4 separate regions of the Homo sapiens genome follow, and regions 1, 2 and 3 are each linked to region 4. Evidence: promoter capture Hi-C in 16 types of primary human blood cells and fetal thymus (Javierre and others, 2016). All regions are on one chromosome and are shown on one strand. The core of a region is centred on a gene start or on the middle of the fragment in contact, and the rest is flanking DNA. Distances in the headings are between cores, read along the strand shown.

Region 1 (2,952 bases), core at 148-2,647, 2.0 Mb after region 4:
ATGGGCAAGGTTGTTAAATTGTTCAAGCCTTTATTTTCTGTTTTAAAATGGTTATTATAATATCTGCCCAGAATTGCTGTCAGAATTAGAAGTGATGTTTGTAAAATGCCTATTATCACCCCCAGCAATTGTGGTGCAGCATTACTAATATTATCATATTGCATAGACATTCATAATTATTTAATATTTTCCTGCATATTTACTTTAACATAAAAGAATCAAGCCTTAAAAATCTCTTGCTGGGGAATTATATGCATTCATTTGGAAATGGGAGTGATGATTCTGGGTGAAACATTTCTCAATCTTGCTCAGTCAAAGGGGTTTTCCACTGAGCATATGTTCTGCAGATGTTTATTAAAACATGCTTCTACATAAGTACCAGACATGGAGAGCTCAATTATTGCTAAATTTTCCATGGTCTATTTTATAATTCTTAATCTTTGAACTCTGGACCACTGATAATTTTAAAAGTAATAGGAGGAGGAATAAAATTATTTCCAGCAAAATTTTGTGTATGTACAAAGGATGTAAATGCTTACAAAAACAAGTGTATAAGCATGGAGTTTTTATAACGAATGACAGCAAGGAAAGTCACCCACTGACTTCTAGATTTTTCTGAATGAGTTAAAAAAATGTCATACAACTTTATTTTAGTTTCTTCTTCTATAAAACAGGGAAAATCCCAATTAATCTCTTCTCAAGCCTCACGTTTGTGATGATTTGTCAAGTTACCCATGGCAGAGTTTCCTAGACGTCTATCCGGATTCATCTCCCCTTATTTTAAAAAGAAATCTTGAGTTTCTGAAGGGTGTGTGGCTGCTCGGTAGGCATTCTGTTTCCCAGTTCCTCTCATAGACTTAGTTGGGACCAAAGGAATAGGAGAGAAAGTGATGTGTGTTACTAGAAGGTGATGCGACTGGGACAGCCAAGGTGGCCCAGAGATGGAACACCCTGTTGAGAAAGGCAGATTCTCTCACCCGATCTGGGACTACTAATCTCTGCATAATCAAATGAGCACAAAATAAACTTACACTTTGTTTATACCACTGTATTTGGGGTCTCTATTTCAGAAGCTCAGCCTGTGTCCTACTTATTCAACCCCTTAGAGGAATACAGCACTAATATAGAGGAAAAGGTAGTTTCCAGGTAAACTGGGCACATTTGTGGGCTCTTTACTGTGCTGAGTGTATACTCCTGACAGCTGGTAGTGGCAAGTTAGAAACATCAGATACCTTTAGAAATTCCAGGGATTTCTATTGAGCTGCTGGTCTGTGGGACTGAGCTGTGCCAACATTAATAGTCTCAGAAGTTCTCAAGCAGCTTTTGGAACAGTAGCTTTCCTGGCTGCTCTGACTTCAAGATGCAAGTGCATGGCAGCTTTAGTGTTTCTTCTTTTGTCCCAGACTTTGCCCTGTGGTTTCTTTGGGATGGACTACCCAGACAATGCCTCTGTCCTTTTCCTGTTCATGTAGAACATAGAACATGACCTCCAACCAACCTGAACAATTGAATTTGCAGTTGTTCTTTGGGATAATACTCTGCTCCTGGTAACAGTGGTCCCTTCCTGGTTTCTCTGGAATTAAACTCTGGGCTATATTGTCAGGGGACCATTTATTGATTAGCTCAAATGTAGTTGAAATTTAGGAAAATGAACTCTATAGAGTTTAGGATTTGTAAATGCAGGCACTGGCAATTTTGCTAATCATATATAACAAAGGGATATTTTGTTACAACAATAGAAACCAATGACTACTGAGTATTTTACAAAACAGCTCACAGTAATCCTATGCCTCCCAGTATGTTTTCCTCCCTATTAGTTACATTATGAAAGGTTTGATTGATTGATTGAAGATTTCTAGGCTGATGTGCCTATTGTACTTTGTAAGCCTACATTGCCTCCTGCTGGCTCTTCTTTCTAAATAACTCTTCTCATGTCTCTTCAGAAATAGATCAACAGGCCTTTCTTTTTGTTTGTTTGGTGTTTTGTGTGTGTGTGTGTGTGTGTGTGTGTGTGCCACATATGTTGCCTCTGTGTTTTCTATCTAGACTATCCTGATTCCTGATCCTTCTCATCAAAGAACACATTTTCAAAATAACTAACCTTTAGCAAATAAAATTTCTCTTCCTCCTCCTTCTCCTACACAAACTCTGTTCTTGTACATCTGTTAAAGCAAAGCCCTCCTTTCCTGCTATCCATATCATGATGCTATCTCTGACTATAGCTGTATGTATATAGCGCTATATATATTCCTGCATATAGCGCCATATATATATATATTCCTGCATATGCAGACACATTTCTTGGCTCTCCAGTTTGACTCTTGCCATAGTAATATAGGAAAGACCCTGTGAATGGCTGCAGTAAGAAAACCTGGTTTTCTTATATATGTGCATATATCATCAAGGGAGTTGGGACCAATTTTTTCAGCTGGACTATTTCAGTAGCCTTCCAATTCATCTTCCTGCTTCTGTAATTGCACCCCCCTCCCCAGTCTGTCCTCCACAAAGCAGCCTGGGTGACTTGGTGATCCTTTGAAAATATAAGTTGAATCATGTTTCTCCTCTGCTCAAAACCTTCTAATGCTTTCTAATGCTAAGAATAATATTCATTGTCCTCATCATAGCCTGCTAGGCACCTGGTTCCTCTTTCATTTCTCTGATCTTATCCCTTATATTCTTTCTCTTACTCATGTTGCCTGAGTCTAAATGGCTTTAATACTATTTTTTTAACTTTTATTTTAAGTTCAGGGGTACAAGTGCCAAGTTGGCTACACAGGTAAACTTGTGTCATGGGGGTTTGTTGTACAGATTATTTCATCACCCGGGTATTAAGCCTGGTACCCATTAGTTATTTTTCCTGATCCTCTCCCTCCTCCAACCCTCCACCATCCAAAAGGCCCCAGTGTGTCCTGTTCCCCTCTAAGTGTCCCTGTGTTCTCATTATTTAGCTCC
Region 2 (3,059 bases), core at 359-2,858, 2.0 Mb after region 4:
TTGTGAATGCACCAATCCACACTCTGTATCTAGTTAATCTGGTGGGGACATGGAGAACTTTTGTGTCTAGCTCAGGGATTGTAAATGCACCAATCAGCACCCTGTCGAAACAGACCAGTCAGCTCTCTGTAAAACAGACCAATCAGCTCTCTGTAAAATGGACCAATCAGCAGGATGTGGTTGAGGCCAGATAAGAGAATAAAAACAGGCTGCCCCAGCCAGCAGTGGAAACTAGGTGGGGTCCGGCTTCCACACTGTGGAAGCTTTGTTTTTTTGCTCTTTGCAATAAATCTTGCTGCTGTTGACTCTTTTGAGTCCACACTGCCTTTACGGGCCTGTAACACTCACGGCAAAGGTCTGCAGCTTCGCTCCTGAAGCCAGTGAGACCAAGAACCCACTGGAAGAAACGAACAACTCCAGACGCACCGCCTTGAGAGCTGTAACGCTGACCGCGAAGGTGTGCAGCTTCGCTTCTGAGCCAGCGACACCACGAACAAACCAGAAGGAAGAAACTCCGAACACATCTGAACAACAGAAAGAACAAACTCCGGATACTCCGCCTTTAAGAAGTGTAACACTCACCGCGAGGGTCCACGGCTTCATTCTTGAAGGCAGTGAGACCAAGAACCCACCAATTCCGGACACATCGAGACAAAACATATATGGAAGAAACAAATATGCAAAATGTTAATGAGGTAGGAGGTCTATGAGTAATATTGTTCAATCTTTACTTTTCTGTACTAAACGTTTCCATGTTAGTGAAAATTCTAAACATTTAATATGAAAGTACATATATATATAAAAGTTAATTGCAGTTGTCTGCAGGAATAATTAGAAAAAGGAAAAAGTTTAAGAAATAAATGTCAGCTTTATTCAGCCTAATCTTATTTTTCTTTATTCTAGGAGATAGACTTAAAACATTTTTTTCTCATCTTTTTTTTTTTGAAGATAGATAATTTCTAGAATCAAAATAATAGAGTCCCTATTACATGATTTAATTTTTTTCTTCAGAACATCCAGTTCTTTTCAGTCTGCTCTGGGTGCTCATCAAACCTTATGCAATCTATGTATTGGGCTTCATTGTGTCGTAGGTGAACAACCAGTCTCAATTCTTGATAGGGAGAGTATGTCTCAGTGATTCATTGTGTGACAAAGTTGCCAGTACAAGAGACTACCTGGTGGTCAGTAAGCTGCAGACCAAGAGTAACTTAAAGGACTCCTCCGGACTTCAGCTCAGTCAAGGATATCTAACACTGTTTTGAGGCACCTACCTGGTCTTCTTTCTCAAGGAATGTTATTGTTGCCAAAGCCCTTGTAAAGACAGCTATAAGATACTTTGAGTTCTGTCAGGCATTGCAGAAGTTGTTGGAGACCCCTGGTGGCAATATAAAGGATAAACAGCTCACTGCAAAGTTTGATGCTAGTATGGAAAATAGTATCAATGGGAAGAGAAACTATTCTCTCTTAGCCTCCTTTTGCTTCTCTGACATTTCTATTCTTTCTCCTGCTGTTTCAAAAATTTGTTATTCTTTAAAGATTTTTCCATGCTATTCTCATTTATACATGTTCCCTGAGTGATCATACCCATTCACCAAATCATACTTTCAGCATGGTTTTCTCCGTTGAGTTTCATGCCTGTATTTCCACTTCCTTGCTACTTATTTCTATATATAGATATCTCTTAAACTCAACATTACAAAAAGGCACTAATTGTCTATGTTTTCTAATTCTATATTTCCTATCCAATGAAATACTATCACAATACAGCCAGGCTAGAGGGCTTATACTTCAAGGTACAAAGAGTATGGCACACTTACCAGGTGTGAGGCACAGGGGTAGGTGCTGGGATAAGGAAAAGAAAGTCACATCTTAGAGCAGAGTGAGAAAACATATCCTTTAATGTGATAGAGGAATACAGGTAGTGCTTTGGAAGTTCTGAGGAAGGAGACCTAACTCAGACTGAGATGGAAAGATTCAAGATGAAGAACTCTTAGAAGAAATTACTATAAAGCTGTATTGTAGACAGTAAGAATTTGTCTGTTATAATCTGAATTTTACTCTCCCCCCAAATTCATATATTGAAGTCATAGCATTCAGTAACCTTGAATGTGTCTGTATTCTGAGATATTGTCTTTAAAGAGATAAGTTAAAGTGAGGTGAGTAGGGTAGGCCCTAATTTCATATGAATGGTGTCCTTATGAGAAGAAGAAATTTGGACACAGACATGGACAGAGGAAATATGTGAAAACACAGGAAAACAGCCATTTACAAGCCAATGAGAGACCCCATAGAAGAAATCAACTGTGCTGACTTGTTTATGTTGGACTTCTAGCCTCCAGAACTCTGAGAAAATTTATGTTAAGTTACCCAGTCTGTGGTACTTCATTATGGTGGCCCTCGCAAACTAATATAGTCTGATTTCTTTTTCGAGGTAATGGTAAGACTGTTCTAAGCAGAGGGAAGAAAATATGCAAAACAAATGGCCATCAAAGATGATAGCTTACTTGAGAAACTAAAAGTAGTTTGGCACTACCGGATCACTGGTCATATAGTGGGTAAGGGCCGTCGAAAATTTGGGGTAGTGAGATCTGAGAGACCAGATTATGAGAGGCATCATGTGCCAAATTAAATGGTGGAAATTGAGGTGGCAGGAAGGGGAAGACATGGAATTAAAGGAAGTAGTATTAAAGGAGATCTCATACATTGCAATTGGTTTTCTCCAATCAAAGTTAATCATGGGTGTATAACTCTTAGGTCTCTGTCTAGCCCAGTTTTCTATGTTAATGACTAGTAGTATTTCATGATAATTACCAATTGTCTAAGAGATAGAGAAATACTTCCAAGAACCTCATTAATTTTTTTCTCTCACAAGATGTTTATTCCCTCTGAGCAAACTAAATATTACTTTACTTAATTTTATATCATTATGCTTTCCTCCCTTATTCTAAGCTTCTTCTCTTCAGTGTTTGTGTTTTATTTTTAATTTTTTAAAAATTAATTAATGAATTTATTTATTTATTTTTGTATTTGAGACAGAGTCTCGCTCTGTTGCCCAGGCT
Region 3 (3,305 bases), core at 317-2,816, 2.7 Mb before region 4:
TGTCTCTTGTATCTGATTGTATATTGTATCTGTATATTGTATATTGTAACTTATTTTTCAAGGTCAGTATTTTTTGCCCTTTACCTTCAATCTCCCTAGAGATCATTTTATTTTAAATATGTCTCTTGTATCTGATCGCATATTGTATATTATATCTCTATGTTGTATATTGTAACTGATTTTATAGCCAATCTAATAGATTAATGTATTAGATTTCACTTATGATATGACAATTACATTGAGATTTAGTTCTAACTTCATACCATTTTCTGTTTTTGATGTTTCATTTGTTTTCTATAATTTGCCAAGAAATAAATATTTAGAGCACAATTTCAAGAAGCATAAATTATTTAAGGATTTTTTTCTCCCTTGTCGTCAGTTGCAGCAATTACTGTTTAACATAAACTCTGTCTTTCCCTTCTAAATTAAGGACAACTCTTGCCATGAAACTTTCTTAGTGTCAAATCCCCACAATCATGTACAGTCTCCCTAGATTCCTAACTCCAGCTTTTGTTTCAGCATTTTGGACACTTTTTGTTAACGATGATATATCAAATATAATACATCATTTTCTCTTGTGAGGGTTCCTAACTAATTTCTCTTCATAGGAGAAACTGATTTCTTTCTCACTCGCATTTACAGTGCTTTCTACTTTAAAGCCAAGCAGTATAATCTGGTAGGAAAAGAGTTGATGGCAACCTCTATGTCTTCACAACTTTTAGAGCTATCTTCTCTGGCCCCCTTTTTTTAAGTTCTTTGTTCAAATGGAAAGTTCTTTTTTCATCTCTCTCTCATTCCTTTAAAACTTAGAGCTTTAAAGTCAATGTTCATTGAATTATTTAAGAAAATCTTTCAACCCCCATTAAAAACTGACCACTTGCATAAACTTACATCTAATAAAACTGACCTCCTATCTTCCCTTTCTATTCTACATTGCAAACACACACTCATGTTCAATTTGGCTTTTAGGATGGTGATTAGTATCATTAATATTAGTAGCTATTACATTCCTTTCTCAAAAGTAGGCACCAGTGTTATTCATTTTTACTGTAAACTTTTAGAGGTAGCTATGTCAATAAATGAAATTTGATGATAAATATTGAATACTATGGCCCTTTACCACAAACATGTGGTATTTTACTTTAAACTATGTGTGCATTCTCAACTGAAGAAGTAAATTATGGATGGTAACATATATTTCAAGATCAGAATCTTTAATTTATTTGATTCATCAACAGGAAAATGCAATTTCCGTATGTCTTCCAACTTGACTGTTAGCCCAGATTTAAACAAATACACACCTTCTTCTCTTTCAGTTATTTTTTTCTGCAGCTGAATTAGTCATAATTTCCTTTTTGTTGTTTCTTTTTTTTTTGCAGTCTGCAAATACATCATCAGCAATTAACCATTTACTTTCTGTTTTCTCAAAATTTATTTAAATGAGTTTACACTTTATCTACTGTTAGCACAAAATAAATCTTTAAAACTGATTAACCTTTAAGTTAAAAAGATCAGTTTTTAACTTAACGTTTTATTAGTGTATATTGTAAAAAAATACATGTTTTAAAGGCCCATCTTTGCATTGTCTTGTATAAACTAAAATATAATGTAATTTTGAAAGGGTGCTTTTGGATCATTCAAATATTAAAATATCTCTGAAGACTGATTCCTATCAAAAGTTTTTAGTTAAGTATAGTTTATTGCTTTTAATGCTATGAAAATATTAGAGATACATTTTGACTTTATCTTTAAACTTTATATATTGCCATGTCTTCAAAATATACTCAGCTTTATTTAACACTTTTGTTGGTGCAGTTGTTAGCAGCACATGCTTAGGAGTTGGACAACATAAGAGTAAATGTTTTATCCGTAACTCACTGACTGTATTTAACTGTTCCTTGCCTCAGTTTCCTCACTTCTAAGTGGGGATAGTAACAATTCCTACTTCATAGGGTTGTTGTAAAGATTAAAAGAGTAGATATATGTAAAGTTTGTAGAAGAGGGCCTGACTTTTGGAAGCATTATAATGAAGAGTGGTTAAAGTCATGGGCACTGGAGTTGGGTCTGGGTACCAGTGCCAGTTCTACCACATACATACATTTGGGAACTGGAGAGTAATTTATTTGGTCTCTTCTGTAGGCTCCTGTCTTCTCCATCTGGTAAGGATGATAATACATATTATGTGTGGTAGAGCACATAAGATGAAAGACTTAATATCTGCCATGTGGTAAGCACTCAATTAATAGTTCCCAGATATTTCCAATATATTTTAGAAAGCCTTTTAAACATTTTTTACGGCAACTAAAGAGTAAGGTTTAATGTTAAGGTGAGGAGAGGCAAGAAAATAACAAAAAGGAAAGTAGTTTATAGTCAATGGCACTTTCAGGGCAATAAAGGAATATCGCTTCCTTAAATATCAGTCTGTGGGGTAGACAGCAATAAAAATCACTTTGATTTGAATTAACACAGCACTGTTCACTTTTTTCTTACTTTAAATCCCATTTGGTCCTAATGTCCTCATTTATCCACAGAATAATTCCATTATGATTTTGATACCCAGAGCTGTGTTCTTGCAGGGTTGGCAAGTGTTTGTGTGGGAAGGCCCTCCTTCCAAAAGTAGCTTCACCAAAACAAGCCACCATTCAATGCATTGTTCCTGATAAAAATGCCTGTTATTTGGGAGTTGTCAGAAATCAGTATGTTTTGTGAATTGGTTTATTATCTCTTAACAATTAAATGAGGAGTAGGGCATAAAGTTTTAATGAGGAACAGAATGAAGAGTATCTCAAAAACTCAGTTGATTTTCTAGGCCCTGAGAAACTCAGATAGTAACAATGATTGAAAAGTGTTAGATGTACTTTTCTTTACATTTAAAACCCCAAATTAATTACTGTTTTTGTAAATACTTATATTTTGAAAACACAGTAGGAATAAAAATAATTGACCACAGTTTGAAAATTATTGTACAATTTTGCAATTTATAGGTCAAGAAATCATAACTTTAAAAGAGTTCCTGTTTCATGATGGCTAAAAATAAACTTTTGGGGAAAAAACGCACCCAAATTCAGGACTAGAGGTCAGTACAAAGAGGAACATGACTTACAGAAATTACATTAAATTAAAGTTCTATCCAAAAAAGTGAGAGGAATGACTTCTATTCAAATTTATACTATATATGTATTAGGAAGGATCTTATGGTTATGACTAATTCAGAGCCTTAGATTTCTTCTCTATAAACTGGAGCACTTGTCTGTCAAGTGTATTCTCAGTCTTCTTCTAGTACCTTGGTCAAAGCACAGCAGTCT
Region 4 (3,179 bases), core at 168-2,667:
GAATTTTTAGAATAAATATGACAACTAGGTATAAGTATTCAACACAGCCACTAAGTTCACTACATAAAAACGTTAAAAGTTTCTTAGACGCCAAGGCAGGAGGATCACTTGAGGTGAGACCAGCTTGGGCAACACAGCGATACCCCCATCTCTATTACCCTGGCCTGGTGACCTATAGTCCCAGCTACTCAGGAGGCAGAGGCAGAGGCAGGAGGATTGCTTGGGCTCAGGAGTTCAAGGTTGCATTGAGCCATGATCAAGCCACTGCACTCCAGCCTGGGCAACAGAGTGAGACCCTCGACTCAAAAAAAGAAAAAAAAAAAAAAACTTAAAAAAAGCTTCTGTTTTTGTCTTTGTGATAATTACATGATTAAAAAAGGGAAAAAATAGAAAAAGAAAACCTCTTTCTGTATGTGATCGGTGTATCTTATCTCAAAATATCCTGGATTTTTGACACTTTTCTACTAGGAAGGTTACCAATCTATTATTTCAGGCAGGATATTTCGTTTCTTAGGCCTGTTTATTTCTAAAATGAAAAGTGGATGAGTACTAAATTAATCGATGTTGGACGATTTTCCAGCATGTTAAAAAACTGTCTTCCAGGACAGGCTTCTGTAATTCAAAAGTAAAGAAACTATATAAGCAGTGTCACAGGGTACCAATAACGCATCATTAAAAGCATTCGGTATTTAATTTTTGTCACCCAGTTTGTACCTGAGCTTAACGTAGTGTTTTTGTCCTAAGACTTTAAAACGGTAACACTTGTAAAGTCTATTTTAAGACTTCCCATGGGGTTGTTACTTGCTCCTCACTATAATCCATTACAACAGCAACCATTTTTTTTCATTCTACCAACAAGTTGGGACTTCAAGTGGTAAAGGGACAGAAACAGTCTGTGAACCATCGTTAAACTTTTTGCTATCCTCGAACGAGCAAATTATGTGAATAAAACAAGTACAAAGATTTGCAAAACTGTTGTCGCCGCCAGGACGACTGTTCATCTTATTCACAAACTTTAACACTTATGCCATAGGGAAATAGTAAGTAAGAATCAAGAGCGTACATTTTTTTTAAGACAGAAAAGTTCGGAATAATCACACTGGGTTTTTATTTGGGTTTTGCAGGCAAAATGGAAAGGACCCCTGGGCCCGCAGCAGCGGGAAGGCTCGAGGCGCCGCCGGCGAACTCTGGGTCGTTCCGGGGCCCTCATCTCCTCGCCCGCCCCCAGGATCCCGCCGAGGCCAGGCCTCCCAACCTCCCACCGATCCCCGACCGCGGCCTCTCCGCGACCCCGGCTCACGCCCGCGGCGGCCAGCTTGAGGATACGGTTGATGTAGTTCTCCAAAGCGGACGTCATGCTGTTCGGCCCGGCGGTTCCGGGTAACGCAGCGGTGCCGACAGCAAGCAGAACTGAAAGGGCGCGCCAGAACCCGGCAGCGGATAGCGCCTGCGGGTCGCAGCAAATATCGTGAGAGTTGCTGCTCCGCAGCCCTGTGAGTCGGAAATTGGGACGAACTGGCCAACCAAACAGAAGCCGCACAGCGGTGACGAGAGAGTGCGCGTGCGCAGTGTGTTTTCTCTGTAATTCTGGGCCGTGTTCCGGAAGCCTCGTAAGACAAAAGCGAACGAGAGGCGGAAAAAAGGAAGACGCTTCCTGAAGTTGGGGGTATGAGACAGAAGTTGGGGGTATGAGACAGAAGTTGGGGGAGAGTGGGTTTCCAATCCGAGTAAAAGGCAGTGTGGTGGAAGTTAACAAGAGAAAATGTTGAGACGAGGTAGAGCAGGCAGGAATAAACGAAGTAAGGTGTTTTTATTAGGAGTGAAGGAGAGAGACGAGTGCTGTTGTGTGAAACGTAGGTGCGGGTAGTTGAATCCCTAGTTTTCTGCAGCAGAAGCCGAAAATAACGCTAAAAATAAGTTCAGTTGCCCGGGACAGAGTTGCGCACGTTATAACCACACGGTGTACGCCTCTTAAGAACTCAGCAGTGAAATACACTTTCGTATGTTCTGCTTTTGTCTCTAAAAGTGTTCCAAAATGGAGGTGTTTTTACTTTTTAAAGAAACTAAATGCAAATAGGCAAAGGTGTGTGACCATCCCTTAGAAAACGAATGTCCACGCTTCTGCCACGCCAGGATGGTCTACCTTTCTTCAGGGTGAAATTAGTAAGTAAAAGGCTGCTGCAGCACCGAGAAAGGACCGATGCAGGAAGGATGCAGGAAGGCACCAAACTTGGTTCTAATCTTGGCTCTGCTAACAAATTGGTGTCATTGCACAGGTCACTTCAATTCTTCTGGGCCTCAGTTTCGTTAGATAGTCCCATAGGTATCATTTCAGATATTTCCCAATGCGATACTGTTCCCACTTCATTTACTGTTGCCCTAACTTGAGAGAGCTTGAAGTTAGAAAGAGATTTATACACAAAACACCAGCAGGAGCGATTTCCCTTTTTTGCAAAATATCTTTATAATTTCAGTTAAACATGTATTTTCTTAAGATTTGTGGCTTTGTAATAACTCTTGCAATGTCAGCAGTTTTCCTCGGAAAAGGAAGCATTTCTTAATTAGAGCATACCCACAAGATACTCCCAAATAGTTAATATTTTATATTCTGGAACTTATTCCTATCTGTTTGAAATCAAATGTAGTCAGGAATTAGATTGTGAATGTCTCATATTCTCAGGGTAACAAATGAAAGTGTCTTCCGCTAATGAAAGAACAAAGATAATTGTGTGATTTGCAAATGTTAGGTGTTGAACCAAAACCCAAAGACTAATTAATGATTAACGAGGTGTTAGGAGTTTTGTTAAAAAAAGAAATTGCTGGGCATGTTGGTGGGTTCCTGTAACCCCAGCTACTCTGGAGGGTGAGGCAGGAGAATTGCTTCAACCCGGGAGGCGGAGGTTACAGTGAGCTGAGATCACGCCATTCCACTCCAGCCTGGGCGACAAAAGCGAAACTCCATTTCAAAAACAAACAAACAAAAAAACCTCTGTGTGATCTTATAAAAATGAGGCCGGGTGCAGTTGCTAACATCTGTAATCCCAGCACTTTGGGAGGCCAAAGCGGGTGGATCACAAGGTCAAGAGATCAACACCATCCTGGCCAACGTGGTGAAACCCCCTCTCTACTAAAATACAAAGATTAGCCAGCATGGTGGCGGGCACCTGTAGTCCCATATA

Evidence for each region. The method cuts DNA at HindIII sites, captures the fragments that hold promoters and counts their contacts. A CHiCAGO score of 5 or more calls a contact.
Region 1: a contact is called between a fragment that was not itself captured here and the fragment with the promoter of LSM8 in region 4, in 3 of 17 cell types (total B cells, naive B cells and total CD4 T cells). The highest score is 8.2, in total B cells.
Region 2: a fragment that was not itself captured here is called in contact with the fragment with the promoter of LSM8 in region 4 in 1 of 17 cell types (total B cells); the score reaches 7.1 in total B cells.
Region 3: a contact is called between a fragment that was not itself captured here and the fragment with the promoter of LSM8 in region 4, in 1 of 17 cell types (non-activated CD4 T cells). The highest score is 5.8, in non-activated CD4 T cells.

What each region holds. Positions count from the first base shown.
Region 1 is chr7:116,162,119-116,165,070 of GRCh38, reverse strand. No RefSeq gene overlaps it. Among named protein-coding and RNA genes, the nearest start is that of TES, 47 kb to the left of the region's middle. The HindIII fragment of the contact is 5,978 bases long and covers 1-2,952 here.
Region 2 is chr7:116,178,715-116,181,773 of GRCh38, reverse strand. No RefSeq gene overlaps it. Among named protein-coding and RNA genes, the nearest start is that of TES, 30 kb to the left of the region's middle. The HindIII fragment of the contact is 2,686 bases long and covers 266-2,951 here.
Region 3 is chr7:120,929,397-120,932,701 of GRCh38, reverse strand. No RefSeq gene overlaps it. Among named protein-coding and RNA genes, the nearest start is that of ING3, 20 kb to the left of the region's middle. The HindIII fragment of the contact is 3,941 bases long and covers 1-3,305 here.
Region 4 is chr7:118,182,402-118,185,580 of GRCh38, reverse strand. It overlaps LSM8 (LSM8 homolog, U6 small nuclear RNA associated), which reads right to left and starts at 1,417. Exons shown (of 4, transcript NM_016200.5): 1 at 1,327-1,417. The coding sequence starts at 1,357. LOC105375470 (a long non-coding RNA gene) reads left to right here and starts at 1,613. Exons shown (of 4, transcript XR_927904.3): 1 at 1,613-1,666. The HindIII fragment of the contact is 4,305 bases long and covers 341-3,179 here.